Regions from separate parts of the Homo sapiens genome. Here all the other regions are linked to region 3. The links are contacts of gene promoters, found by promoter capture Hi-C in blood cells and fetal thymus (Javierre and others, 2016). All regions are on one chromosome and are shown on one strand. Each heading gives the region's core, a stretch centred on a gene start or on the middle of the fragment in contact. The rest is flanking DNA. Distances are from core to core; before and after follow the strand shown. Region 1 overlaps NCK2 (NCK adaptor protein 2). Region 2 overlaps NCK2 (NCK adaptor protein 2). Region 3 holds the start of TGFBRAP1 (transforming growth factor beta receptor associated protein 1). Region 4 overlaps NCK2 (NCK adaptor protein 2).

Region 1 (6,900 bases), core at 708-3,207, 480 kb after region 3:
AGAAATTAGTTCTGTTTTTTCCCTCGTGTTTTCATTAATCAGCTTCTAATTAACCTACTAACCAGCATTAATATATGGAATTGATATAATTTCAGCCTAGTGCAGAAAAACTTGATACTTTTACTTTTCAGGACAGCTTTATCTTGAGTGAAAAATCTAATTGCAGTGAGGCTTTTTGAAGCTGCTTCAGCTGTTTCTAAACCCTGCCTGGGAACCACTGTGCACTGGATGATTAAGAGACAGCTGAGGTCATCTCCTTGGACACCTTTGAGTTTCGGATTGATAAACACATCTAAGCTGCTCAGTATCAGTCCACATGGGTTGAACTTTGGCCAAACCACTCAAAGAAACTTGTGTAGCTTTGTTCAGTATCTGAAACCAGCCTTTTCCCACTTGAATAAGGTTCTCTTCCAAGTGGTTCACTAGGAATGAAATATAGCTAGCTCTGCCAGAATTCCCTCAGACAGCGCTGACCCCGTGCTGTGTTGGGCTGGCACTGCCGCCTCCGTACTCTGAACGGGAGATCCACTTGCAGGCCTCTGCTGGGCCTCCTTGGTCAGGGAGGGAGGAGGGAAGGGTAAGACAAGGCATTTGAGAGCTCTGAGGCCTATGCTAATCCATGCTTTTTTGTTTTTCTTTTTAAATAAAAGGAAAAGGACAATTGCCTTAGCTCTGGCTACAGACTAGGGATCTGGAGTGGTTCTCTCCATGTGTAACACAGATTAGATTTGGTTATGATACACACCCGAGTCCAACATCTGCTCATTACTGAAGCCAGGTGACACTATTCAACAAGGCTTTTTTTTTTTTTTCCCTCCTGTGCTAACATCTAAGAGAAGCAGTAACGTTGAAAACAAACTTGGTGTGTGTACATTCATGGGCTTGCTTCTTGATGTAGCCTGACATGGTTCCTAGCTGATTTGAGAGGTTGGAGCCGGCCACCCAGGGTGGCAGATACCCCAGACAGATGGCATCAGCAGATGCGATTTGCAGAATGCGACTGTCAAGGTTCTAGCCCTTTCGTGGTGATCTTTGTCAGGAGAAGGAGCACTCTGGCTTTAAAATCAGACAAGTGTGCATTCAAATTCTGGTTGTGAGACATCTGGTCATTTGGTTCCTGGGCTGAATGATAAGATGTATCTCCCAGGGTTGCTGTGACGATTCTTGCAGCTGATGCTAAGGTGAAGCCACGGCGAGTGTCTCACTGGAATCAGAACATGTTCTTCTCCCAGCCTGTCACCGTTTCTATCATTTGGACAGTGGGAGAGGAGGGATTCCCTGAGCCTCCTGAAGGCTGACTTTAGTCTCTTGGTGACTTCAGTTTTCTGGACAAATAGGCCACCTCAAAAACAGGTTGAGTGACAGCACCCAGTGGTATTATGTCCACAAAGCTCACAGCCTTGGGCTGTCATCAGAACAAGGCTCATAACTCCCTTCTTAACCCTGAACTGCTCCTCTGGAGTTGCCTTAGTCAGGGACCTCATCACTGGACTTCCCTCTCAGATGCTGATAGTTGGAGGAAACCAGCCCAGGTGCAGCAGAAGACACTGCGCCAGCACCACACAGGCATTGGGGATGCAGAATCGGCCACGACTGCTTGCAGGGGGGCATCTCACTGCCTGGCCCTGCGCCTGGGACAAGTAGTGTGGCCTGGCAGTGCTCAGCACACTCGCCCAACACTGCAGCTAAGTGCTGCTGAAAACACTGGAAAACCCTGGGTTGTGGCTTTAGTGGAAAAAAAGCAAATTTTAAGGTTACAGAGAATTCAGATAATCCCTTGGATTTTGCAGTGGTAAAATTTTGTAGTATTAAGGATCCACATTAAAATGAAGAGATACGTACGGTATCAGTGTTAATTGCCTTCCAGCCCTCCCTCCTTTATTTCTAAAGGGAGATGCACGTAGTGCTAGTGAAGTACTTTTAGAGAAAAGCACACACTCCTTCTGTATATTCCTGTCCTGAAGCTGGCTGTAGAAAATCCTTGAATCCTTTGGTGAGGGCCTTCTACAGTCCAAGTGACCGTATAGGTGTTTATCTTTCAGGCTGATACTGTTTTTTGCACAAAAGTGTATACTTTCCTGATGGATTTCGATCACTGATTATAATTAAGACCTGCTTTGAAATGCTCTTCCTTAACACAGGTTTTGAATAAGCTAAGAGCCCCATGTTAAACTTGGGCAGTCTTCATTTAAACCCAGAGAGAGAGATGTTGACCACCATGTTTTATTCTACTTAGGGTGTACACTTAACACATTGACAGTTTGTCAGTGGAATGCTTTTCTCAAGGAAAACATCGCATGCAACCTTCACGTTTTACACTTGAATCCCAGATGGCCACTGGCACCTTTCAATGGATTTTCAGTAGCCTCACTTTTGTTGGAGCTGCTGCATTAGTTCAAGTCCTGCTCCGTTCTGTCTGGCTTTTCCTTTACTGATTGTGCTTGGAGAGGCCGTGTTCTGACTTGCCCACTGTGCCTAGTATCAAAGGACTCAAGTTCTAAATCCAGCTCATTGTTCTTTTGCGGGGTCTGGTAGAGAAGCTGCTCAGGCTTTTGGTTTGCTGTTGGCATAAGGAGTCTCTCCTCTGTTCGCATGCAGAAGAGATTAGAGATGTGCAAAGCCCACTCATCCGGAGTCCAAGGCCTAAGTGATTCCTCACTCTCCAGTCGGTTGGGAAAAACCTTTAGTGTCACTGAGAAAGTGAACTCCTCTGTACATTTGGGCATTAGAATCCATCCTGGCAGTGTATCAGAAGGATTAAATCATATTACTCATGAGACACAGGGCACACAGGGGGGAGGCCTGTATTTGGACAGCCCAAACAACTGCATAAAACAATTCCTTGCATTTGCCTGTGGAAGGCAGACTCTGGGCAAATTCACTTCCCAGTTAAAATCTTAACAACACAACTTAACGTTTATAATAGCCCCTGAAAATGACACATACAGAGGTGGTGTTTGGGGCATGGTACCCAGCACATTGCCCTTTGCTGATGTTCAGTGGTGTCAGCATGAGAAACAAGAACTCTTGGTCAAGAACTGAGTTCAGATTCCAATACTTCCATCTCGAGAGGACCTGTCATTTTATTATAAACACTTAACAGAGAGAAGGGCAATCTGCCTAGTATACGTTTGAACTTCTTGCCCAAAGATGTATTCCCACTGTGTTTGGCCATCACCTTTTCCTTGCCTTAAATTATATCTGTATTAAAATGATGCGGCCTTTAAAACAGTGCTAGAGAATACATAAAAAGGAATTAATTTTTAAATCAAAATTTATGAACTTGCCTTATAACATTTTTATGATAGCCCTATTTGAATTATCTTCTTATCTTTGACTAAAATAGAATTCGATTTTTCTATGGGGTATTTAACATTTTGGATCATAATCATGCTAGGGATGAATTAATAGATCTTCTGTGAGTGAACTGTCAAGACAGATCCCCATTGGGTTTGAAATGTAATTAAAAATGTCAGTGAACTCACTTGAAGTCCACAGAGTGCTCCAGGGTCCCCTCGAAAACGTTAGTCAAGGACTGAAAATACTTACCAAGTGCAGTGAACATAACGCAGCTGCCAGCTCTCCACAACCAGGAGGGCGCTGGTCACCTTTGTCAGGTGCCTCTCATCTTAACTTCCTTCTAGTTTTGGAGTGTTCGTCTCAGAAGTCTTGAAACTAGGGGTGCTTTTTAGCCCAAGGCTATGGGTCCGGTTGGTGGCTTCTCAACAAATGGCTGGTGCAACAGACCTCCAAGAGAGGAACGAGTCTCTAAACAATATCCATGCCCTTTGTAACCCTTCTCCGTCATTAGACTCTCAGACTGGCCACCTTTCCAATGGGCAGACTCCCTTTTATTTCTGGGAGGCTTTTAAAGGTGGGGCTCATTGGGAGGAGGAAGTCTGGAAGAGACTGGGAGCTCAGGTCCCTTGATTATGGGCTGGCTGTTCCCCCACACCCCATCACCTCCTTCCACCTGCTGTTCACCGGGTGTGTGGTTGGCCCTCCCCAACCCGAGTGTCGGAGCTTGCCCAGGGAATGAAAGGTGGGAAGAGGGAGTACATGTGTGTTGATGGAGGTCTTTAGGCACAGAGCAGCTTTAATCTGGGATATATTTAAAACATTGGTTTCAAAATACATAAAATTAGCCAGGGGTGGTGGCATGCCTGTGGTCCCAGCTAATGGGGAGACTTAGGCAGGAGGATCACTTGAGCTCAGGAGGTGCAAGTTGCCGTGAAGTAAGATCGTACAACCACACTCCAGCCTGGGTGACAGAGGAGACCCTGTCTCAAAAAAATAAATAAATAACAAAAAAACCCATTAGTTTTAGGCAAATAAATAACCAGTTATTTTTAAAAGTGGTTACTTAAAATCAAAGAAGCAAGCAGACCTAATATATGCTTCTTTCTTTTTAGATTTCATGTGTTCTTTGTATACAAGCGACGTCCCAGATTATAATTCTCTGCTGAGATTTGAGTTGGATTTGAGGATTTGGAGAATCCCTGCAGCTTTGTAACTTCAGAGGTGTAATTAGCTGAAAACATCATCGTTTTGAAGAGTTCTGCGTTTTGCCAGTCACCTCTCAACTGTGTGCCAAAGGTAAGTCTGCAGTTTTCTGCTTAAAACAGAAGTTGCAGCTTTTTGCTTCAAATGCTTAATTTGGACAGTAAGTTTAGTAAAATATCAGTCAGTGTAGCCTTGATTTGTTGAATCACATTAAATTTAAGCTTTCAATGAGGGAGAAAATTAGATTATCTCTGTTCCTGCTTTAGTGTGTGATGGTTCTGAGTATGTAGCCAGGAAGCAGGATGGTAGACACCTACAACCTGTAAGATGGTACAGGTACCTCCACACTCAGATATTACTGACTCTTGAATCCATAACGAATCCTGGTCCCTGTATTCTGTATGGGACAGGGAGTATAAGGATAAATAACCACTTTTCTGGTGCTTTCAGTCTAGGAAAAGTTGGATTCCAGCTTTGATGCTGAGAAGATAAATCTGTGTCAAAGGATAGCTGGGCATGGTGGCGTGCACATGTAGTCTCAGCTATTCGGGAGGCTGAGGCAGGAGAATTACTTGAACCTGGGAGGCGGAGGTTGCAGTGAGCCAAGGTCACACCACTGCACTCCAGCCTGGGCAACACGGCAAGACTTGGTCTCAAAAAAAAAAAAAAACCTACATCAAATGAGATGCAGACAGATGAAGGATTCTCAGGAAGGTTTTACCTGTTCATATGAAAAACCTACTTGTGTATGTTACAATAAAATCATAACTGTGATGCAACATGTGGATTCTGGGACCCAGTGGTGCTATCACCACAGGCACCAGACAAAAACATGTCACTGTGCAACAAAAATATTTCTTAGCCCTAACATCTTAAGACATTTAACTTAAAATATGAATTGCTGTTTGTAGTCCAGTTAATCCGGTGTTCTCTTTCTGGCTGGGCAGTAAGAAGTGCTTTATGAGAAGACACATTTTCACCTCCAGAGCTTTGTCTCAGAATGAACTGCAAGAATAACACTAGCTTTCCTTAAAAACTTTTAATTTGCTCAAAAAAATTTACAAGAAAAAAAACAACCCCATCAACAAGTGGGCAAAGGATATGAACAGACACTGCTCAAAAGAAGACATTTATGCAGCCAAAAGGCACATGAAAAAATGCTCATCATCACTGGCCATCAGAGAAATGCAAATCAAAACCACAATGAGATACCATCTCACACCAGTTAGAATGGTGATCATTAAAAAGTCAGGAAACAACAGGTGCTGGAGAGGATGTGGAGAAATAGGAACACTTTTGCACTGTTGGTGGGACTGTAAACTAGTTCAACCATTGTGGAAGACAGTGTGGCGATTCCTCAGGGATCTAGAACTAGAAATACCATTTGACCCAGCCATCCCATTACTGGGTATATACCCAAAGGAATATAAATCATGCTGCTATAAAGACACATGCACACGTATGTTTATTGCAGCACTACTCATAATAGCAAAGACTTGGAACCAACCCAAATGTCCAACAATGATGGACTGATTAAGAAAATGTGGCACATATACACCATGAAATACTATGCAGCCATAAAAAGTGATGAGTTCATGTCCTTTGTAGGGACATGGATGAAGCTGGAAACCATCATTCTCAGCAAACTATCGCAAGGACAAAAAACCAAACACTGCATGTTCTAACTCATAGGTGGGAATTGAACAATGAGAACACTTGGACACAGGAAGGGGAACACCACACACTGGGGCCTGTTTTGGGGTGGGGGGAGGGGGGAGGGATAGCATTAGGAGATATACCTAATGTAAATGACGAGTTAACGGGTGCAGCACACCAACATGGCACATGTATACATATATAACAAACCTGCACGTTTTGCACATGTACCCTAGAACTTAAAAGTGTAATAAAAATATATATATATAAAAAGATTTTATTCCTTATACTGTAAGATTTTTCCTGTACATCTTACTATCAGCTTATAAGAAATATATATTTCCAACATGGTATATTTAACAGAACAAAATAGAAAAGATTGTTAAATCAAGTATGAAAGCAAACCAAATTTTAATCAAAGCATAACCTAAATTAGTTTTGGTGTCCAACTTTTAGGTGATATGTCTTCTGGTTGTATGAAGAGCAAATGAGAATATTACAGTGGACATTTGTATAAAAAAACTTTAATTTGCTTCTATTATTTGCAGATTGTTTTAAAGTAATCTTGAAACTATCATGTTGGACTATGGAATCTTTTGGTGTGGTGGTTTCTGGAAATTTTCTCCTTTAATATTAAAAGTTAGAATTTCCTCTTACTTGGTCTGCTACTACTACAAACACATCTTGTGAATATGTTCTTTCTCTTCGACCACCTTAAAAGAAAAATCTCTTGGAACCTTT
Region 2 (6,427 bases), core at 2,806-5,305, 470 kb after region 3:
GGCCCTTTCAGCTATCACATTTTATGATGATCTTGACATTCTTTGTAAGATGTGATTTCTTAGTTATCAAGATCATCATATTCAGTGTAGTCCTAAGGTAGAATCAGAATAAATTGCCCAGCTTCAGCAGTTATCAATTAATGGCCAATCCTTTATCTAAGCCCCTATAGACTCTAACAGATTATTTCTGAAGTGAATTCCAGACATCAATTCCTGTCCTGTAAATATTACGGAATTTCAATAACAATAACTACTTAACAAGTATGCAGTCAGTGTTCAAATTTTCCCACCTGTCTCAAAATGTTATTTACAACTGGTTGTTAAAGTCAGAATCCACGTAAGGTCCACACATGCAGCTGAATGATCTATTGATTTGTCCAAACTCGTTTGTTTTTTTTTTTCCACCTTCCCCATGCCAGTTGATTTGTTGGCAAAACCCGGTCTTTTGTCATTTGGGCTTCCCACAGTCTGCAATGTGCTGACTAGGACCCTGAACTTCCTAGAAACTGCACATCAGAACCAGAGCCAGTCTGGTGCGATTTTCTGGCAAGGCTGCCCCTTAGGTGGTGTGTGTGCATCTATCAGGCCGAGGCCCATGTGAGCAACCTGGATGGCCGTGGCCTCCACCTGTAATGCACAGGGGTTGCAAAGTGATGATTTTCTGATTCAGTCACTCCTTCTGCACTTGCTAGCCAGGTGAGGAGAGTACTTGTCAGCTATTACCCCGACGTGCAGTTTAGATGGGAGTCTTTCCCTTTCTCACCAACCGAGTCAGCTTTTCCCTAATGGTGGGATTCTTTCCTGTCCTGTGTCATGAAGCCAACCCATGAAACTGAAGGTGAGCATCAAGCAGTGCAGGCTTTATATAATGGCCGTGGAATTGAGAAGTGGCAGTGTGGCTCGCAAATTGGCTTCTCAGTCCATGAGAGGTGGGAAGCCACAGATGTAGGACATCTTTAATGAAGGGATTGGGCATTAAAAGCCAGGAGAGGAATATTCATGTATTTTCTGGGAATGGGTGGAGAACTTCTGGAAACCAGAGTGCTGCCTGTTTTTTTGTCCCCTTATGGTTTCTTGTCATTGTCATGGTGATTGTCAACTGTCATGGTCCTAGTGGGAGTGTCATTTAGTATGGAAATTAGATGATAATGAAGTTAAAGGTTCTTCAGAGGTCAGGTGAGCTGCCATCTTGGATCCCACTGGTTTCAGCTGGTCTGGTCAGGCAGGGAACTTCTGACCTCGGGCATCCTGTTTCTGAGACAAGTAGAGTTAAGGCAGGGTAGAAATTCACCTAGGTCATGTAGGCATTGCACTGGCTAACAAGTTTATTTGGCAGTTTTCAGAGTAAATAGTTCTGGTTCCCCAGTATCCACCAAAGTGAGCAATGAATTTGTTTATTTCTTTGTTTTGAGTAGCAATTGTGGAACTCTGATTTAAGATACTTTGTGTGTATTTTTACCCACTGCAGTTGACACCCTCATTGCTGCTCAGGCTGCCCCAGCCTTGGCCAGCGAAAGCTGCCTTAGGTGGCCTTCGTGTTCTCTTGCCACGTGCCTGTAGTCCTTAATAATCACACCGGAAAGCAGGGAGCTGTGGGGGTTTCAGGCTCCTTTAGACAGTGCCTACCCCAGCTGGGGTCTGCGTGCCTTCAAAGAACTGTGGGGACCACTACTGTTTATGGGTTGCTTCTGGTTTGGTCATTGTGTCTGAGCCTTTTCAGTGGATAAAAGCTTTTTTTCTTTGGTGTGGTTTGTTTTTAAACATAATCTATTATAAATTCACATTGATACTTATAACTCAAAATTAGGATTCTAAAATATTGTATCTTTCGATTTTTTTTTTTTTTTTTTTTGGAGACGGAATCTTGCTCTGTCGCCCAGGCTGGAGTGCAGTGGCGCCATTTTGGCTCACTGCAACCTCCACCTGCCAGGTTCTAGTGATTCTCCTGCTTCAGCCTCCCAAGTAGCTGGGATTACAGGCGCCTGCCACCACGCTGGCTAATTTTTGTGTTTTTAGAAGAATTTTCTAAAATTTCACCATGTTGGCCAGACTGGTCTCAAACTCCTGACCGCAAGTGATCCGCCCGCCTCAGCCTCCCAAAGTGCTAGGATTACAGGCATGCGCCACCATGCCTGGCTGAATCCTTTGATTTTATATTTCCTTTATGCTGAAAATCTTTGTCCCTAGGATCGTTTACGTAATGACTTATTTGCTTGCTTGTGTGTTTTATTTATATACAATATATATAAATGTTTAAAATAACCCCACCAATATAATTGCAAACCATATAAGTACTGAAAACAACAGAAAATGTTTTTGTCCTTAGGGTTTATCTCACAGGGGAAATACAGTCCAATTATTGTATTTCAAAGTCTTTCAGGATAATTCCTCTCTGTACTTAAGCCACCAACTCAATTTATAGTTTAGTTTGTTTCATTCTGCTTTTAATTTTTGGACTTTAAAAAAGTTAATAGTTTATTATTTTATTTATTTATTTATTTATTTATTTATTTTTGAGACGGAGTCTTGCTCTGTCACCCAGGCTGGAGTGCAGTGGTGCAGTCTTGGCTCACTGCAACCTCCATCTCCTGGGTTCAAGCGATTCTCCTGCCTCAGCCTCCCGAATAGTTTATTATCTAAACTGTTCGCATGGTTCCGCAGCCAAAGATGGTTATGTCCAGAGAATGATTATTTTGTATGACTACTCTCTCTATCTTCTTTTTTCCCTACTCTTTTCCATCACCATTTTTTAAAGATGTTTTTTTCTTTCCCCTTTTTATTTCTTGCTTTTTAAAAAAAGTTTTATTTTTTAGAGCAGTTTTAGTTTCACAGCAAAACTGAGCAGAAGGTACAGAGTTTTCTCATATATCCAGTTCCCCCACATGAACTAGCAACATCCCCGACAGGGTGCTGCATTTGTTTCTGTGGGTGAAACTGCACTGACAAAAACCAATCACCCAAAGTCCAGGGTTTATATTTGGGTTCACTCTTTGCGTTGTGCATTCCATGGGTTTGGACAAATGTATAATAATAATTATTGCTTTTTAATGTGAGCAAACACATATGTGTATACAGTGATATATTTTTAATTTTTTTTTTCCTCAAATAAGCAATAGCATACTCTATACACTTTTCCCAAGCAAGAGGTCAAAGGTGGTTTTCTAATTATATGGTATATTGTAACTTAATCATGATATTGAGTTAAACTGAATGGGCCTGTTTATTTAGTTATTTTGAAACGGGTAATTATAAAAACTGCTGCATAAATATTTGAGTCATATTCCAAAAGAGTTAGAAAATACATGGATATTCCTGTCTTATTTTTGCTTTAACAAACTTGGTCTATTTAGTTTACATGTATGCTCCGTCAGTGGTTCTCAGCCAGGGTGATTTCATTCCCCAAGGGATATTCAGCAGGCAGTGTCTGCAGGCGTTGTTGATTGTCACCAATTTAGGCAGGGTGTGGATTGTTGTTAAACATCCTACAACGCAGGGGACAGCTCCACGACAAAGAATTACCGAAACGTCTGTATGCCCCTGGTGAGAAACACTGCTCATGTTCAACCAGGTATTTGAGTCATTATTCCTCCCTCTAGACCTCTCCCTCCTCCCTAACTTCCTTCCTTCGCCGCTTCCTCTCATCTTCCACGCACCCTCCCCCCAGTCTTTTTCAGTAAAACTAGGTATTTACATCTAGGACTTTAGGAAAACATGAATCATTTAAAATGAAACACATCAACGATATATTCTTTATTACCAGTCTTGTAAAAAGAGCAAAACAGTTTAGCATTTGAAAGCTCTATTGTAGTTTGCTCTGGTATAAATCATATGTGCAGTCAAACTTTTTTTGGAAAGCTAATTCTGCTTTATGATACAGGTCCCAAGAAGACAGAATTTTATTAGGTGCATGCACATGGAATACCAACTTCAGGGTTGAAAGTGACTGAGGTTGATAGTCTCTGTATTGGCCGCCCTCTGGGCACTGTGGCTTCAGGGTTGAAAGACAATCATTTGCAGGCGTGTGTAAGTATATATGGCTGGTGGGCAGAGTGGTGGCTTTGCTGCTCTTGCAAGGCTGTTTTGTCATTGATGGCACACAGGAGAGTGCTGGAGGTTAGTGTCAGTTTATCTTATCTCTGTACTTCCTGTTGCCTCACTTTAGGATCTTAAGAAATATTCAATTTCCACTAAAAAGAGGAGTGAACAATTCAATGTTTTGCTGTTTTAAGGGTCATGTATGTAAATATGGATGAATGGGGGCATTGGAGCAGGGAGCACATGGGGTATTATTGGCACCGGTTGCAGAGAGGGCCTGGGGACATGAGTGTGTGGCACAGAACGCAGGTGTTCAGATCGGCAGCGTCTGGACTGAGCCTGGGAGCTGGAAGGCTGGAGATGGTGCTTTTCTTCCTTTTGCATTTGGCAAGGAAGAGTATCCCGTAGTTTAGTGTTATTCCAGAAGCTCTCGGCATCATGTTTATTCCCTTTCTTTTTTTTCCCTTGTACTTTCTCATACCTCTATCAGATAAATTAAATGAATTGGAAAAATAACTAAGCATTTCTCTTTGACGCAGGTAAATGCAGTATACATTTGATTCCATGGAAAGGAAATATATATAATTAGAACACTTATAGACATTAGTGGTGACAGTTCACAGGTTAGTCTGCCCTCTCAGGAGTTGTCTTGATAAAATAAATTTTATTAAGCATGTTACTTGTAAGTGTCAGCACTTATCTGTGGTTGGTTCAGTACCCCTAGCTGGGGTGAGTGTTTGCTGTGATGATGGTTACAAGCATAGTCTTGCAGAAATGGATTTAGTCATCACAGTCCCTTTTTTATTTTAACTTTATGTCTCTAAGACATAAAAATTTATTATCCTTTTTAGGCCTTTGACTCACAGTTTGTACCACCATCTTTTCTTTCAGCATCTCCCCCACCCACAAGAAAAAAGTTGACATTGATTTCTAATCCTTTCTGTCTGGCCAAATTCAGGATCTTAGAAAGGACACCCCTATTTCAGCTCCTATACTAGTGTTTTAAGGGGAACCTTTAAAATGGGATTCTGAAGCCTTGGCTGATTTTTCTTTTCTGCACAGGAAATAACCAATTTGTGCTATTTCTGGGTGGTGTGTGTTGAACTCACAGTTCTAGGACCGGAAGAGACTGCCAGCCATGCGGTTCCATATTGTGCAATGCAAGGGCAGAAATGGTATCCAGGTCTTTCTAAGGGGGAAAAAACCAGTATGGCCAAGCAGCAGGCTGCCAGGCTGTGCGGGCTAGCAGAAGGGAGGTTCTTAAATTCTCTGCACCCATGTGAGGGAGGCTGCTCTCTTGACAGCGTCTTAGGGTCAGGATGGCTGGAATGGAGCGTGGAGCCTGGTCTGGTTGGAGTCCCTGTGTGGCCTTTTGGAGATGAGTATGGTAACAGTGAGGCAGGAAGTGGCTGGATTTGCAGCGACTGTGTGGAGCCTCCCTGTTTAGGCTTAGTGAGCTGATGCAAAGTCTTTCGTAACCATGATCAGTTAAAACAAAACACCTGATGTTGTGGCCTCCTGTCAGCTTTTGTCCTCCTGTAGAAACAAGATGCTTCTAGAAAACCAGTTTGTAAATTTGGCACAGAAAAAAAACCCTTTCAGCAATTTGGTGTGGACTCTGCTTGTTAATTTATGGCTTCGCAACTTTTTTTAAGCTACCGGCACTAACAGCAGATCTTTAAGTGTTTAATCGTCCCAAGTCAGGTTTGACTGTGGGCTGACTAGCTATAGTGATCTAATTTGGTTCATTTCCTAGGAGAAGAAAATTATAACCACATTTTTATTAATTTATGGTTTTGATCCATCTATTTTAGACTCAATATTAAATCATCCCCTACTTCCAGAAGATGTGTTTTTGAACATAAGTATCTTTAGGATTTAATATTCTATGAAAGGAGTAGGAGCTAATGTTCGCTTGTTGTAATGTTTGTTTTCTTCTGATATGATGATTTTGTTGAAAAAATGTATTTGAAAGAGTAACGTGTAGGTAAGAAATAAGTTAGCCAAAACCATACTTCAAGGGAAGCCTCCCTCCTATCCTGGGAGCCCGGATAGCCTCACTGTGGCCTCTTGTTTGTACATCCAGAATATTCTTGAAACTGGGTTAGCTGAGTCATTTTTTTTTCTTCTTTCAGTGTTCTCCTTTTTTCTTTTTATAAAATGAAGAGATCTGTCCACAAGTCTAGCTTTTAACAATGAGAAAAAGCACTGAATTGTACACTTTAAACAGTGAACCAGTTTGGGGTCTGGTTTAGAGAGAAGAAATAAGGGTTAAAATTGTTTTCATCTTCCATATCTGATTCATATAATCAGATATGAATAGTGAAGTTCCCCAAAGATACATGTAAGCTTGGAGTAAAGACAAAATGTATGCATTACTTTGATGGGGGAA
Region 3 (6,319 bases), core at 3,714-6,213:
AGTGGGGGACTCTGAGGGTGGACACTCAGGCTGGGAAGGAGCACAGCCCCTCAGTAATAAGGATCAAGGCCCCAGAGCGAAACTGGGCCACCCCGGCAGTGAACTGTGGTAAATGTGGGCACGCTGCATAGCAGACATTCCCGACATTAATCTGGGAATCCTGAGCTCTGCTTGTTGCTTGGTCACTTCCTGATGATCTTAGGCAACTCACTAAGAGGCTTTGTCTGGGCCTGTGTTCTCTATAAAACAGAAATTTGGACTGGGCTGTGTGCTTCTCCTATACCATTCTCCAGCTACTTCTGGATGAAGAGGAAGGGAATGGAGGTCTTGAAAGGTGGAAGAGTCATGCTGGTAAGTAGAGAGCTGGGATTCCAACCCAGGTAGTCAGCTCCAAAGCACACATCCTTAATCAGATGCCACACTGGCTCCCAAGGCCAATGCTGCCCCAAGCCTGGATGATGGATGGCACCCATAGGCTGCAGCCCTGGCTGACACCCTGACTGCCCCCTCAGGAGAGCCCCAAAACTGGGTTTGGTGGGATACTGCACACTCGATATAGCATTATCCTTTCGTTCTTACCTTGACGCTGAGAGGTGGACATTATTATGGAGATACAGAGATCTTAGGTGGCTTGCTCAAGGTTACCTGGCTACAAGGTGATGAAACAGGGCTTTGACCCTAGTTTTTGTTCGTGACTCCAAGGCCATATTCTTATTGATTGAGGGGAACAAGTATGATTTCAGATCCTCTCCTAGAATTCAGTTCTGAACAAAGCAACAACTCTCAGCAGGAGGCCACTATGGTACTTAGAGTGGCATGCTGCTGCAGTTCCTGAGGAGTCTTTGCTATTGCTTCCCCACCGTGAGTCTAGAAGAGGAATCCTGTGGCTCTATCTGCTTGCTGAAATTCAGACACAGAATAGTATGTTGACACAGTTCTCTACTAACATAGTAATCTACCAAAACAGGATACACATTTATGTGACAGCAACTGCTTTTCCTGAGCTGCACCCCATGCTGGTCCCGTGTTCTTCTCTAAGTCCCACAGCCATCTGTTGAATGACTCAATCTTGAAATTTGTCAGGAATCAACAATAAATTTACTGGCTTGTACAAAAGTCAACTTTTCCCCCCTTTGAAAATGAAGATACTGCTTGACAACCATTTTATGTTATCTTTTGCACTCATGCAACAGAGACAGCAAGATTAGTTATAGTGCAATGAACCTGCTCTGATAATCTGCAAGAGTATCTAAAAAAAGAGGATTAAAAAAAGACAGTTAAGGTCTAATATCTAACTTGTCATCTTAATATTATCATGATGTATATTTAATATATGTAACTATTCATAGTTGGTATCCTTTTTACTGGGCAATACTAATCAAAATTATTTAAATACATATAAACATATATTTATATACACACACATATATACACATACTATATATGGTGTGTGTATACATACATATGCATAAGGGTGTATGTGTGTGTGTATGTACATATATATAATATACATCCTATAAGAGTACCATCAGCAGTTAGAATTAAAAGGGTTTAGGAAGAGAAGTGGGAGGTAGAAGAAGAGCAGAATAGAAATATGGCATTTACTTCATAACATCTTCCTCAATACTGAACCTTCAAACAGCCACAAAAAATTATCGAGTACTGGCCAGGAGCAGTGGCTCATGCCTATAATCCCAGCACTTCGGGAGGCCGAGGCAGATGGATTGCTTGAGCTTAGGAGTTCAAAACCAACCTGGGCAACATGGTGAAACTCTGTCTCTATAGAAGAATACAAAAATTAGCCGGGCATGGTGGCATGTGCCTATAGCCCCAACTACTTGGGAGGCTAAAGTGGAAGGATCACTTGAGCCTGGAAGATGGAGGTTGCAGTGAGCCGAGAACACGACACTGTACTGTAGCCTGGGTGACAGGGTGAGACCCTGTCTCAAAAAAAGAAAAAAAAAATTATTGAGTACCTACAGGACTTGATAGTCCATAATATCCAGTCAGTTGTCATCTTTAAATATGTGATTTTTTCCTTAAATCTTTAACTTTTTCAACAGCAGTTACTTGACTATCAAGAAAAGATCTTGATTTCAAATCATCTGCAAGATTTCATAATTCACTTTTCATGAGGCACTTAAAGTCATTTGGGGTAGCACCAAATTAAGTTGTTACTCTACATTCATTTAGTAGGTATTTATTTTTTTAAATAAAGAAAAACGAGTCAGGTTTGCTACAGAGATGAGTTGTAAAGTCTGAGCCAAATTATTCGGCAGTATCCAAACACCTGGCTGCCACAAATGACTACTTTAATGTATTTCTAATGAGGGCTGGATTCAGACCAAGATGAAGACACTTAACCCATTAAGTAAAATTTCTTCAAGTTTTCTTAAAAGATCACAAATTTGTAATATTAGCATGAAGGAATAAGCCAAATAACTTCATTTTTTTTTTCCTAACAGAAATGTTAGCTGCATATCAGACCCAGAAAATACAGCAAGTTTTTTGGCTGGGCGCAGCGGCTCAGGTCTGTAATCCCAGCACTTTGGGAGGCCAAGACAGGAGGATTGCTTGAGGCCAGGAGTTTGAGAACAGCCTGGGCAACACAGGGAGACCCCTATCTCTACAAAAAAAATTTTTTAAATTATCTGGGTGTGGTAGTGCGAGCCTGTGGTCCCAGCTACTTGAGAGGCTGAGGTGGGAGGATCCCTTGAGTCTGGGAGATCAAGACTGCAGTGAGCCATGGTCACACCACTGCACTCCAGCCTGGGTGACAGAGCAAGACCCTGTCTCAAAAACAACAGCAAAAAAACCACCCAGAAGACAACAACAAAAAGAAAATATAGCATTTTTAAAATAGTGAGCTCTATGCTTTTAAAACTCCTCAACTGGAGCTGCCTAAATGAAGAATGGGCCCTTTACAAATCCCTGTCTCTGGAGGGTTTAAGCTGAGGTTAGATTGGTCCTGGGATTCCTGCAGTGGTGAAAACGCTCTGCCTCCAATGCTATGACAAGAGGACTGCCATGCACAATCATGAGTGTAGAAGAAAAGGCAGAGTGAATGAAGGCTAACAGTGGCACCTCACCTCTCACCCAATTCAATTGTGTAATGCAAACCTTGATGCACATAGCAAATTGGAATTCAGAACCCACAAGTCTAACTCCAGAGTAAATCATTTGTTAGGTTAACAATTACTCAAAACATAAAACTACATATTTTCAGAGCTGAGGGAGACCTGGCTCTACATCCTCATTTATATTTGTCAGCAATAATTTATTGAGCACCTACTAAATGCCAGACCCTGTGCCGGATCCTTTCCAGGCACAATTTCTTATTAGAATTCATGTGCCTTTTCTAATATTATCCCTATTTTGATGGAGGAATTTGAGACTCAGAATGTCCAGCAAATTGCCCAAAGGTCACAGGAAATGGCAGAGGCAGGATTTGAACCCACACTCCACATTCATTACCACCACAGAGCATCACTCCCATTTCATAGATGACCTGGGGCAGGCTAGTTATGGACAGGTTCCAGCAGATTCCAGCCAGTAGACTTTCTAGTACTCCAGGCAGCGTTTTGCTACACATCACAGAAGCAGCTGCAATGACTGTTGAGGCTGCTCGGCTGGCAGAAATGGAAGGAAAAAGAAAAGGAAGCAGCTGACCAAATGTTCCTTCTGACTGACCATGGAACTGCGAGCTCTCAGTTGTCTGCCAGCTTCCGGCTGACCAACAGAGAGAAGCATGTCCACCATGAGAGAGTAGCAGCCACCACACAGTCCCTCTACATTCGTTCATCCTGACTCCAACCAAGCCAACACACACAACGCAGTAGGATCTTCCCTGCACACCTTCTCAGTGCCTTAACTTGCCACCACAATCACACCCGCAGCTGCCTTCCTTCCTGATAGACAAGGTGCTTGCCCATGAGCACTTCATCAGTGATTAAACTCTGCTCAGACATGTTTTGACCACAGCTGCGCGTGCAGTCCACGTGCAGTAAGGCCTGCTGTGTGATCTGTGAGCCCCCATTTTTAGCAGCCAGGTAGGAGGCTTCCTGAGGGTCACTCAACAGTCCTTGGGTAGAAGCCACGGCAGGTGCAGACAACCGGACAGCTTCCGTGTTTAAGGATATCAACACTTAACACAGGGAGGCAGGCGGACTAACTTGCACCTGCACCTCCAGAAGGCAATGGAAAGAAAACAATTCCACAGGGATGACAGCTTCCAGCCCTTGACCTGGTGCTAAAAACAGGGGCCAGGAAGCCCAGCACAGCACTTTTCCCTACTCCCCAACACACCCCTGCCTACTCTCCAGATCAGGACAATTCAGGCCTGAGTGTGACCCGAATTTGAGCTCTCAAATCCAAAGAGCTCCCAGAAACCTCAATCACAGCGCCAAAACCATTCCATACCAGGGATGGAGGTGCAAGTCCTTCCTGGCCCTTCTCCCCGGAAAACCCAAATCAAGGACGAGGTCTCTCAGGTCTTCCCTTGCCCTAAACACACACGCACTCCTCACACACAACATACACACTTGACCCCACACCCGTGCACACTTCATCCCACACACACGTGAACACTTATTTGCTCACCCCAGCAGGCTAGCCGGCCCCCACAAGGGACAGCTACCAAGTCGCACACCCGCACACCTGCCCCCAAGTGTATAGCCACTTGCTCCCCCCACCCCGCGTTCCAGCCCCCACTACACCTGCCCCAGCGCACACGCACGGGCTCGCCCTCCACCCCGCCCCGCCGCCTACCCCCCACTCCTGCTCCCCGCCCTCCTGCCCCACGCGCCCCGCGCCCTGAGCCCCGCACCCCGCGCCCCGCCGCCCTCCTCACTCACCGGCGCCGGCGCCCGCCGTCCCGCGCCGCCCCGCGGCCTGGGGCCCCGCCGCCCCGCTCCGGCCCGCGGCTCCTGGGCTGGCCCGACCCCGCAGCCGCCGCTTCCCGTCACGTGGGGCGGCCGCCAGGCGCTGGCGGAGGGCGGGAGCGCAGCCGTCTCCGCGCCGCCCGCCGGCCCGCGGGCCCTGCCGCCTGGCTCCGAGCACAGGCCGAGACGGGCCCTGCTCCGGGCCTCGGCGTCCCCCTCCGTGCACCGGGGCCACGACACGGCCCGCCTCGCGGGGCGGCCAGCGGGCGGAAGGTGTTCATTCGGGGGGCGCTGAGGCCGCCGGCCCCGGGCGAGAGCGTGGTCCGCGCCAGCTGTGCGAGCCCGCGGGGCTGAGGTCTCTTCTCCGCCCCCGCCGCTGCGGGGAGCTTCAGGGAAGCCGGGCTTTGCCTGGCTCGCTCGCCACCCAGTTTCTGTCACCTACACAGGAGGAGGGCGCCCGGGAAATACCTGCTGCGTGAATGAATAAATGAATGAAATGCTTGGGCCCTGGGAAATGCTTGGGCCCGCGGCCGCCTGACCACGCGGGCTGGAGGATCGGACGTACCGCCGGTGCCCCACCAGGAGACGAAGGCATGGTTGGGATGCGCAGCCCTCCCACGAGGCCCATGGCGCCCCAGGGCCCTAGGGATTGACCGGGACCCCCGACTGGCAGAGTCCACCTGCTTGATACACTTATTTGAGAAGGGAGGCCTGGGACTATCTTACTCCTTTTAGGAAAACCCAACTGTAGCTGCTATTCCTTTGGTTCAGGCCGCAAGGAAGAATTGTAGGTTACCATGAATCCATGAACCCCTCTTTAGTATACAAAGTCCACTTTCATGACGGAAGAATTGGAAAGCTCCCTCCAGAGTTGTCAGTACTCAATTATTAGCATATAAAAAGTCAAATTTTCCCAGGGATTTTCAGACTTTAGAACCTGCTAGTGACCTGTGGCCTCAGCTTTCTTCCAGCCACTCTGAGTATTGTAAAACAAAGATATTATCCCAACCCTGAAGGCAGATACCAGATTGTACGCCATGGTCTTCTGTTTCAAAGGGATAAAAAAAGAAAGAAAAGAAACTGGCCAAAAAAAAAAAAAAAAAAAAAAAACCCAACAATCTTCCTGTGACTTGCCCTCTACCCCTACCCTAGTGTGACTCATGGCCACATAAATGCCCCATCCCCAGTGGTGCTTCAGCTGTGACCCAGTGGAACCAGTGTCACCGGCTCAGCCTCCAGGTAGGGGACTGGCTTCCCAGGAGTGTAAAGCTCTGACCAGCAATTGAGCTTCAAGGGCAAGCAGCAGTGAATGGACCTTCAAGTCTAAGGTGGCCAACAGCTAGTGGAGCCAGGGATTGGGAAGGTACAAGAGCAAATCCAGTCTCTTCATTTTACCCAGGCTCACAGAGACTATGTGACTTGTCATCAACTAATCACTG
Region 4 (7,012 bases), core at 3,843-6,342, 430 kb after region 3:
AGCACCTCATCCCTCAGCCATCCCAGTGGGTGCAGCCGATTCCGTCTTCCATAAGAAGTAGGTTCTCCTTTCATGAGTGCCTCCGGTTGGTGAGGGTTCCATGTGTAAGGAAGAAAATATGTTTTCAACACATTGCACGTTCATGCGTGTGGCTTCTCATTCATTTTAGATCGTATTAGTTATTAGACCTAGATTGGGAAGTAGAAACAATTTACTTGTGCAGGTACACGAATACCTTTTTAAATGTTAGTATTTTGAGAGACTTCATTGAGACCCGAACCCATGCCTATAAATTCGTGGTTCTCAGCTGGGGCAGTTTTGCCTAATCAAAGACATCTGTTTTCTTAGCTCAGAAGCCTTACGTTGGTGATTGTCTACAGAAGAAAATTTGTCTTTGTTGTTACTAAGGTTCATAGGATTCTAGGTTCAGCCTGATAATTTTTGAGCTGGTCACATATGTTAGCTTTTGAATGTTTAATTTCCTTCTTTGTATAGTTCTAAAATAAACTCCTCAGGGGAGAGAGACTAAAAATATCACAAATTAGACCTTACGAAGGGAAAAGGAAAGGGGAAATTCTAATCTGGCTGTTAGTCGCTGACTTCCAGTGTCTGCAAAGCTGCCTGTTACCTGGCCTAGCATATGACGTTGCTGTCTGAATGTTCTTTTTTTCTTTAAAACAGGCCCTTACTTGATCAAGTAGGATCAGCCTAGAGATGAAGAGAGCTGTCAGTTAGAAGTTCCCTTGGTCTTCTCACTGTCTGCTTTGTTTAAATTATTTCCTGTTCCATTATTCTTCCTTTTGACTTTGTTGTTTCTTACCCCTCTCTTCCTGTGCTGTTTCTAGGATAAACACGAAATCATCACTTTGCATAATTTTGAGCTTTCCTTGGTGGAGATAGTTAAAAGTACAATCAATCTTTCCCTTTCTTCAGTCATCCTATCTCATATGGACTGAGAAAGACCTGTGAGAAATTAATAGTAATTCTTTGCACAGACTGGAAAGTTCTGAAGTTGCAACTTTGGAACGATGTGTGTTTCTCTTATTACTTGCACACCTTGTATCATTTGATTCTAACTTTGTCAGGTAGAGGGAGGCCAGTGTTGTTAATTATCCCTTTTTTAGATGAGGAAAGTGTGGGTCCCTCACCAGGGCACACTGACTGGCCCACTGGGGTCCTGTGGTGAGTGGCCATGGGGGAATGTCAGGCCCAAGCAGTGTGGTATGTGGGATGGCCCAGCTCCAGAGCAGCAGGTCCTGGACTTCATTCTGGCTTTGTATTGATGTTATTGAAGTCCCCTCGTCCCTCAAAACATTTGCCTTCACGCAGTGACTGCTTGGCTTTCCATTACAATGGGAGCTGGATTCAAACAGTATCATTCTGAACTTTTTATTTTTTGAGACGGAGTTTCGCTCTTGTCACCCAGGCTGGAGTGCAATGGCACGATCTTGGCTCATCACAACCTCCCCCCTCCTGGGTTCAAGTGATTCTCCTGCGTCAGCCTCCCGAGTAGCTGGGATTACAGGCATACACCACCATGCCCGGCTGATTTTGTATTTTTAGTAGAGATGGGGTTTCTTCATGTTGGTCAGGTTGGTCTTGAACTCCTGACCTCGGGTGATCTGCCTGCCTCGGCCTCCCAGAGTGCTGGGATTACAAGTGTGAGCCACCGCGCCTGGCCCCATTCTGAACTTTATTAATGGCTCATGTAAATCTGAACTTCAACAATCTTGATTCTTACGAGGAATAGAGATGAGTCTCCTTTTCCTTTGCTACTAATTTGGCTAAAATTGCATAGCGAAGTTTTAAACTCTCCTGACCTCTGTTTTGTCTTCTGTGAAACTAGGGGTTGCCTGTAATGTACTTTCACAACCTTTTATAGCCCCAACTTTCGCTGTGTTAAAATTGAGATGGGACAGGTCCTTGATTATTAGGGATTTTTTTTTCTTCAAAGTGGCATGGGATGAACTGATCTATGTGTAAATTGATGTTGCTGTTGCTTTTCTCTGAGTGTAGTTAGGAGGGCTGGAAGTATATGGGTGCAGAGATGTAGAAAGGCTACGTTGTTCATCCTGCCACCGACAGGTCAGACTGTTCTCCTGGCTATGTTTTCACTCAGTTGTGTACCTGCAGTTCATACCTACATAGGACCAGCCATGGGCCAGGCACTGTGCTGGGTGCCGTGGGAAAACCACAGCAAACCAGACAAACACCAGCCTTTGGGGAGCCTGTAAACCAGTGTGGAGATCTTACAAGCTCACAGTCCACTGTAATCTTAATTAACAAGTATGGAAAATAACTTTCGCCATCTCTGGGTGGGGGAAGCACATATGGGAAGTCCCCCTCTAACCTCTAACCCAACCCCCAAGGCCAGGCAGAATTCATTTGAAGCATTCTGGAGGATAATATTTTCTTCAAGATCCTCAGAAGCTCTTCAGTGCACAGGCAACTCCCAGATACTGGAATTGTCACCTGAGCTGAGACATTCCACATGCCAGTTGTAAGCCAGGTCTCCACCACAGCTGGGGTGAAGCACCTCTATTCTCTCATGCCAGGGTGGGTGTTATTATTCCAGGGCCTGGATGAAGCTCAGTTAGTTTGCTTAGGATGAACACATGATTTGTGGGTCAATTTTCAGGTAATGTGAACTCTACTTACATGTTGTTTATTGCTTGAGAGCTTTATCTCTTAAAAATGAGTTAAACTACTTGGCGCTTTGAGTGGAATGCAGGTCTCAGGTAGCACACTAATACTTCCTTATTTTTTTTTAATTGATAATGGCATAAAGCCATTATGCCATCACATTTGATATAGAGATGTAAGTAATTGAATCACATTACTTCTCTTGGATTAGTAATGAATATTGCACATCAATCCTGTGCACACATTTTACAGGTTTGTTTTATCCTATTGATGGTTTCATTTGAACTGTGTTTGGAAATTTAGTTTATTTCTTACTCCATTGTAGATGTTTGTTTTTGTTGTTTTTGTTTTTTTTTTTTTTTGAGACAGAGTCTCGCTCTGTCACCCATGCTGGAGTGCAGTCGCTTGATCTCGGCTCACTGCAACCTCTGTCCCCGGGTTCAAGCAGTTCTTCTGCCTCAGCCTCTCGAGTAGCTGGTACTACAGGTGCGTACCACCATGCCCGGCTAATTTTCGTATTTTTAGTAGAGACGGGGTTTCACCATATTGGCCAGGCTGGTCTTGAACTCCTGACCTTGTGATCCACCCGCCTCAGCCTCCCAAAGTGCTGGGATGACAGGTTTGAGCCACTGAGCCCGTCCCGTTTTTGTATTTTTTAAATGCAGTGTTTGAAATTCTTGACTTCTACACAGTAGTCAAGACTGATACTTCTACCCAGTACCCAAATTACTGTACTGCTCTGACAGTAAGTTGTTACAAAACTATTTTCCAAAGGTTGGAACTGATTTCAGGGTTTACATTTAAGCTTTGTTTAACATCTGAAACTGAATTAATGCTAGCATTCAAAACTAGTAAAATCATTATTAGTGATTCGTCCTCTATTTGACACTGAACCAGCAGACATTTCCCTTAGCTTTTGGTGACATGGATTAAAGTAAAATGGTTTTGGTGATTTACTATAGTTAATTAGTGATAGACTATAATTAATGCTTAGTGTTTTGAATGAACTTAATTTGCAAATAATGATAATTTAAGATCTGAGTTTGATAAAATTTTAAAGGTTGATCGAATACCTAGATTCCTGGTTCTTGGGCCTTCAGAAGGAGAGAATTTCACGTGTTAAGTCCTTATTTGGTCTTATTCAAGGGAGCAAGATTTTTTGTTTGTTTATAAACACATGCAGTATATCGTTTTACGTATTCAAGTACACATAGTACGTTCTCTGGGGAAAGCAGAAAATTGTATTGCATTTCAGCCATGTAATACCCTCACGTTCGTGTATTAAGCTGATCAATAGGGGTATTTATTTCCTTTTGTTGAGCACAGTGTTTTAACGTTTCCAAAGTGTAATTTGTTATTGTTGAAAGTCAACCATGTTACCCTATGCATACAGGCTTTTATATAATAAAACATATGGTATATATTTTTAAGTAAGCGCTTAATTTTAGAATAGATTTTAAATTTACAGAAAAAGTTTCAAAGATAATACAGAGAATTCTGATATAAACTGTGTCTACTTTCCCCTGTGATTCACATCTTACGTTACTATAGTACATTGGTTACATCTAATGAACCAGTATTGGTACATTATTGTTAAGTCCATAGTTTATTTGCCCTGACATCCTTTTTCTGTCCCAGGATCCCATCCAGGGCACGTTTCCTTTAGTCTCCGTAGCGCCTCTGATCTGGGACAGTTTCTTAGACTCGCCTTGTTTTTAATGGCTTGACAGCTTTGAGGAGCAAAACTGCTTTTCAGGTGTTTTGTAGACTGTCCCTCAGTTGAGAGTTGTCAGATGTTTTTTCATGATTAGTGTAGAGTTACCGGTTTGGGGAGGAAGGCCACCGAGGTAATGTGCCATTTTGTATCAAGGGTCCATGTGATCAGCGTGGCTTATGATGGTTGATGTTGATCTTGATCACCTGGCCCAGGTAGTGTTTGTCAGGGGACTCCACTGTCAAGTGACTCCACTGTCAAGTGACTCTTTTCCCTTCTTTCCATACTGCTGCAGTCTTTGGAAGGAGGTCATTTAAGGAAGAGGGAGTTCAGCTGTACCTCCTGTAGGGGTTGTATTTACATTAGTTATTTAGAATTCTATCTGACAGATTTATCTATTCTCCCAAAAGGGACCAAGATTTTCAGTGGGGATAGAAGGCACTGTGGCACAGACAGCCCCTTGGCACTGTTGCGGAGGAGGTGATAGGATAGGATGGTGCCCCAGCATGGGGTTTCCAGAATGTGGTCCTGGGCTGTGGAGAAATGCAAATTCCGGGGAACTGCCTGACTTCCCGCGTGGGATAGGTTGGTCTGGAATTCTTCCTGTTGCACGAGTTCCCCAGGTGATTCTGATGCATATTCAAAGTTGAGAGCCTCTGCTGTGGATTAGCACTTGAACCCCAGGTGTGCCGGCCAGGAGTCAGGCCCTCACCTCCATCCTTGCCGTTCACACCTCTTCCCTGCTGGTGGCACCTAGCTCTAAGGCTCCCCGTGTAACCACTTCTCCCACAGTTTTGACCACCTCTTGGATCTCTCCATCTGAGGCTCCCTTTGTATCAACCAAGGGTCTTTGCTTTCTGGATAACTTCATCCTTCTTTTGGTGGGCCCAGAGTTCCAGTGAAGGGAGAAACCAGTTACAGCTGAGAACCCTATTGTGGAAAGGCCAGTCAGGGCCAGAGTAGGGAGGTCCCTAGATGCCAGGCTTCTCTGAAAATGGTTTTGTCACATGTGAGAGAGAGAGAGAGGCAGAGACACCGAGACCCCACGTGGACTGTGTTCAGGTTTGAGCAAATAAAAAATCACCGAAAAATCTTCATAGTTTCTACATGTGTCATGCCTTGCGCTTTGGGACACCCCTAGCTCTTGGGCACATTCCCTGGTTGAAGTGGGAGGGCAGTGGCCTGAAGAAGTTTCTTTGGGATTGGGATCTGGGTGGCCCTCATCCTGCTTCCGCCTGAGGAAGCCCTGGTCTGTGACTGGGCTCAGGAAGTGGTCCCGACCCAGTGTCTGAGGAAGGCATTCTCCTCTCATAGATGGGGGCCAGAGTCTGCTGTGAGGCCATGCTGGTGTGCCTGCCCGCCCACCCTACTGGGCCTCTTCTGGGCAGCAGGGTTGTGCCCTACCCGGGTGCTGGGAGGTTTGGGTGTGTATGGGAGCGGTGGTATGGACGGGGCAGGCGTTGGCTCAGAAGCTGGCGTGGGGAGGGTCTTGAAGTGGTCATTTTAACTCCTGGCTGACTGACTTCCAGAGAATCTTTTTTTGGGAGGGAGAAGAGTGGCTCACCTTTCTCTTGGGTACAGAAAAAGTCAGAATTAAGGCCATTAGCCTGTTTCTCTTTCTGGTCACTGCCTTCTCCCTCCTAGTGATGGGACGATTCCAGGCTTGGGTGGAAGGCCAGGTGGGGGGACACTACTTCCTGCTCCACCCTTCCCAAACCATTATACACAGATGAGAGAGACTCTGTTGTATTCATTCACATAGATATAATTTATAATAATGCATTTTGTTTATTAAAAAATGACTGGGCCAGGCAGAGTGGCTCATAGTGGCTCATGCCTGTAATCCCAGCACTTTGGGAGGCTCAGGTGGGAGGATTGCTTGAGCCCAGGAGTTCAAGACCAGCCTGGGCAACATGGCGAAACCCTGTCTCTACAAGAAATACAAAAAAATGAGCTGGGTATGGTGGCAAGTGCCTGTAGTCCCAGCTACTTAGGAGACTGAGGCAGGAGGATCACTTGAGCCTGGGAGGTCCAGGCTGCAGTGAGCCGTGATCAGGCCCCTGTACTCCAGCCTATATGACAGTGAGACCAAAAAAGACTGAATACAGACATGTGCGCTGACCCTTTTGAACATTATTTTCTTTTCAATCTCTGCCTCTGTGTTACAGTTTATGTTTTCTCTTTTGTCCTGCGGATTTTTGATACATTTTAAAAATATCTTGTCCTTTTTCTAAGTTTTTGCGTTGACTACAGTTGCAAGTGTGGGTTTTGGTGGCTTTCTGTAGATGAATCACTTGACCTGAAAACAAGGACTTTCGCTTTGCTAGAAAATTAAGGACAGAGTTTGTGGAATGCACTGCTCTTGGGTTTTCCTTAGAAGAAGCTTGTGAGAAGCACAGTTTCTGTGCGTAAGAGTGGGCTTAAACCAGGTGATCTCCGAAGATTTCCTTCAACTCTCAAGTTGAAAGAGGCCTTGCCGAGGAAACAGGCAGCTAATGGGCAGAGCATCAAACCAGGGGGGGTCTAGGTCCAGGCCCGGGCGCTTCCTGCTGTCAGACTGCCTCCTCACATCAGCAGGCATTCCTGGGATTCACAGCAACAAAAGAGCCCTCTGCTTTGAAAGGGGTTCAGTCTGTCTCTTCTGTAGTCTGGACT

Evidence for each region. Contacts are between HindIII fragments. The CHiCAGO score rates a contact against its expected background, and 5 or more counts as called.
Region 1: a fragment that was not itself captured here is called in contact with the fragment with the promoter of TGFBRAP1 in region 3 in 1 of 17 cell types (neutrophils); the score reaches 8.5 in neutrophils.
Region 2: a fragment that was not itself captured here is called in contact with the fragment with the promoter of TGFBRAP1 in region 3 in 1 of 17 cell types (neutrophils); the score reaches 5.3 in neutrophils.
Region 4: a contact is called between a fragment that was not itself captured here and the fragment with the promoter of TGFBRAP1 in region 3, in 3 of 17 cell types (monocytes, megakaryocytes and neutrophils). The highest score is 5.9, in monocytes.

Annotation. Positions count from the first base shown.
Region 1 is chr2:105,812,018-105,818,917 of GRCh38, forward strand. It overlaps NCK2 (NCK adaptor protein 2), which reads left to right. Exons shown (of 5, transcript NM_003581.5): 2 at 4,413-4,596. Among named protein-coding and RNA genes, the nearest start is that of NCK2, 71 kb to the left of the region's middle. RefSeq lists enhancers at 1-484, 485-985. The HindIII fragment of the contact is 5,530 bases long and covers 1-4,722 here.
Region 2 is chr2:105,792,214-105,798,640 of GRCh38, forward strand. All of the region lies in intron 1 of NCK2 (NCK adaptor protein 2), which reads left to right. Among named protein-coding and RNA genes, the nearest start is that of NCK2, 51 kb to the left of the region's middle. The HindIII fragment of the contact is 4,654 bases long and covers 1,729-6,382 here.
Region 3 is chr2:105,324,772-105,331,090 of GRCh38, forward strand. It overlaps TGFBRAP1 (transforming growth factor beta receptor associated protein 1), which reads right to left and starts at 4,964. Exons shown (of 12, transcript NM_004257.6): 1 at 4,854-4,964. RefSeq lists an enhancer at 81-375 and a silencer at 4,849-5,278. The HindIII fragment of the contact is 18,854 bases long and covers 1-6,319 here.
Region 4 is chr2:105,755,424-105,762,435 of GRCh38, forward strand. The region is part of intron 1 of NCK2 (NCK adaptor protein 2); the gene reads left to right. Among named protein-coding and RNA genes, the nearest start is that of NCK2, 14 kb to the left of the region's middle. RefSeq lists enhancers at 5,629-5,708, 6,600-7,012. The HindIII fragment of the contact is 3,292 bases long and covers 3,447-6,738 here.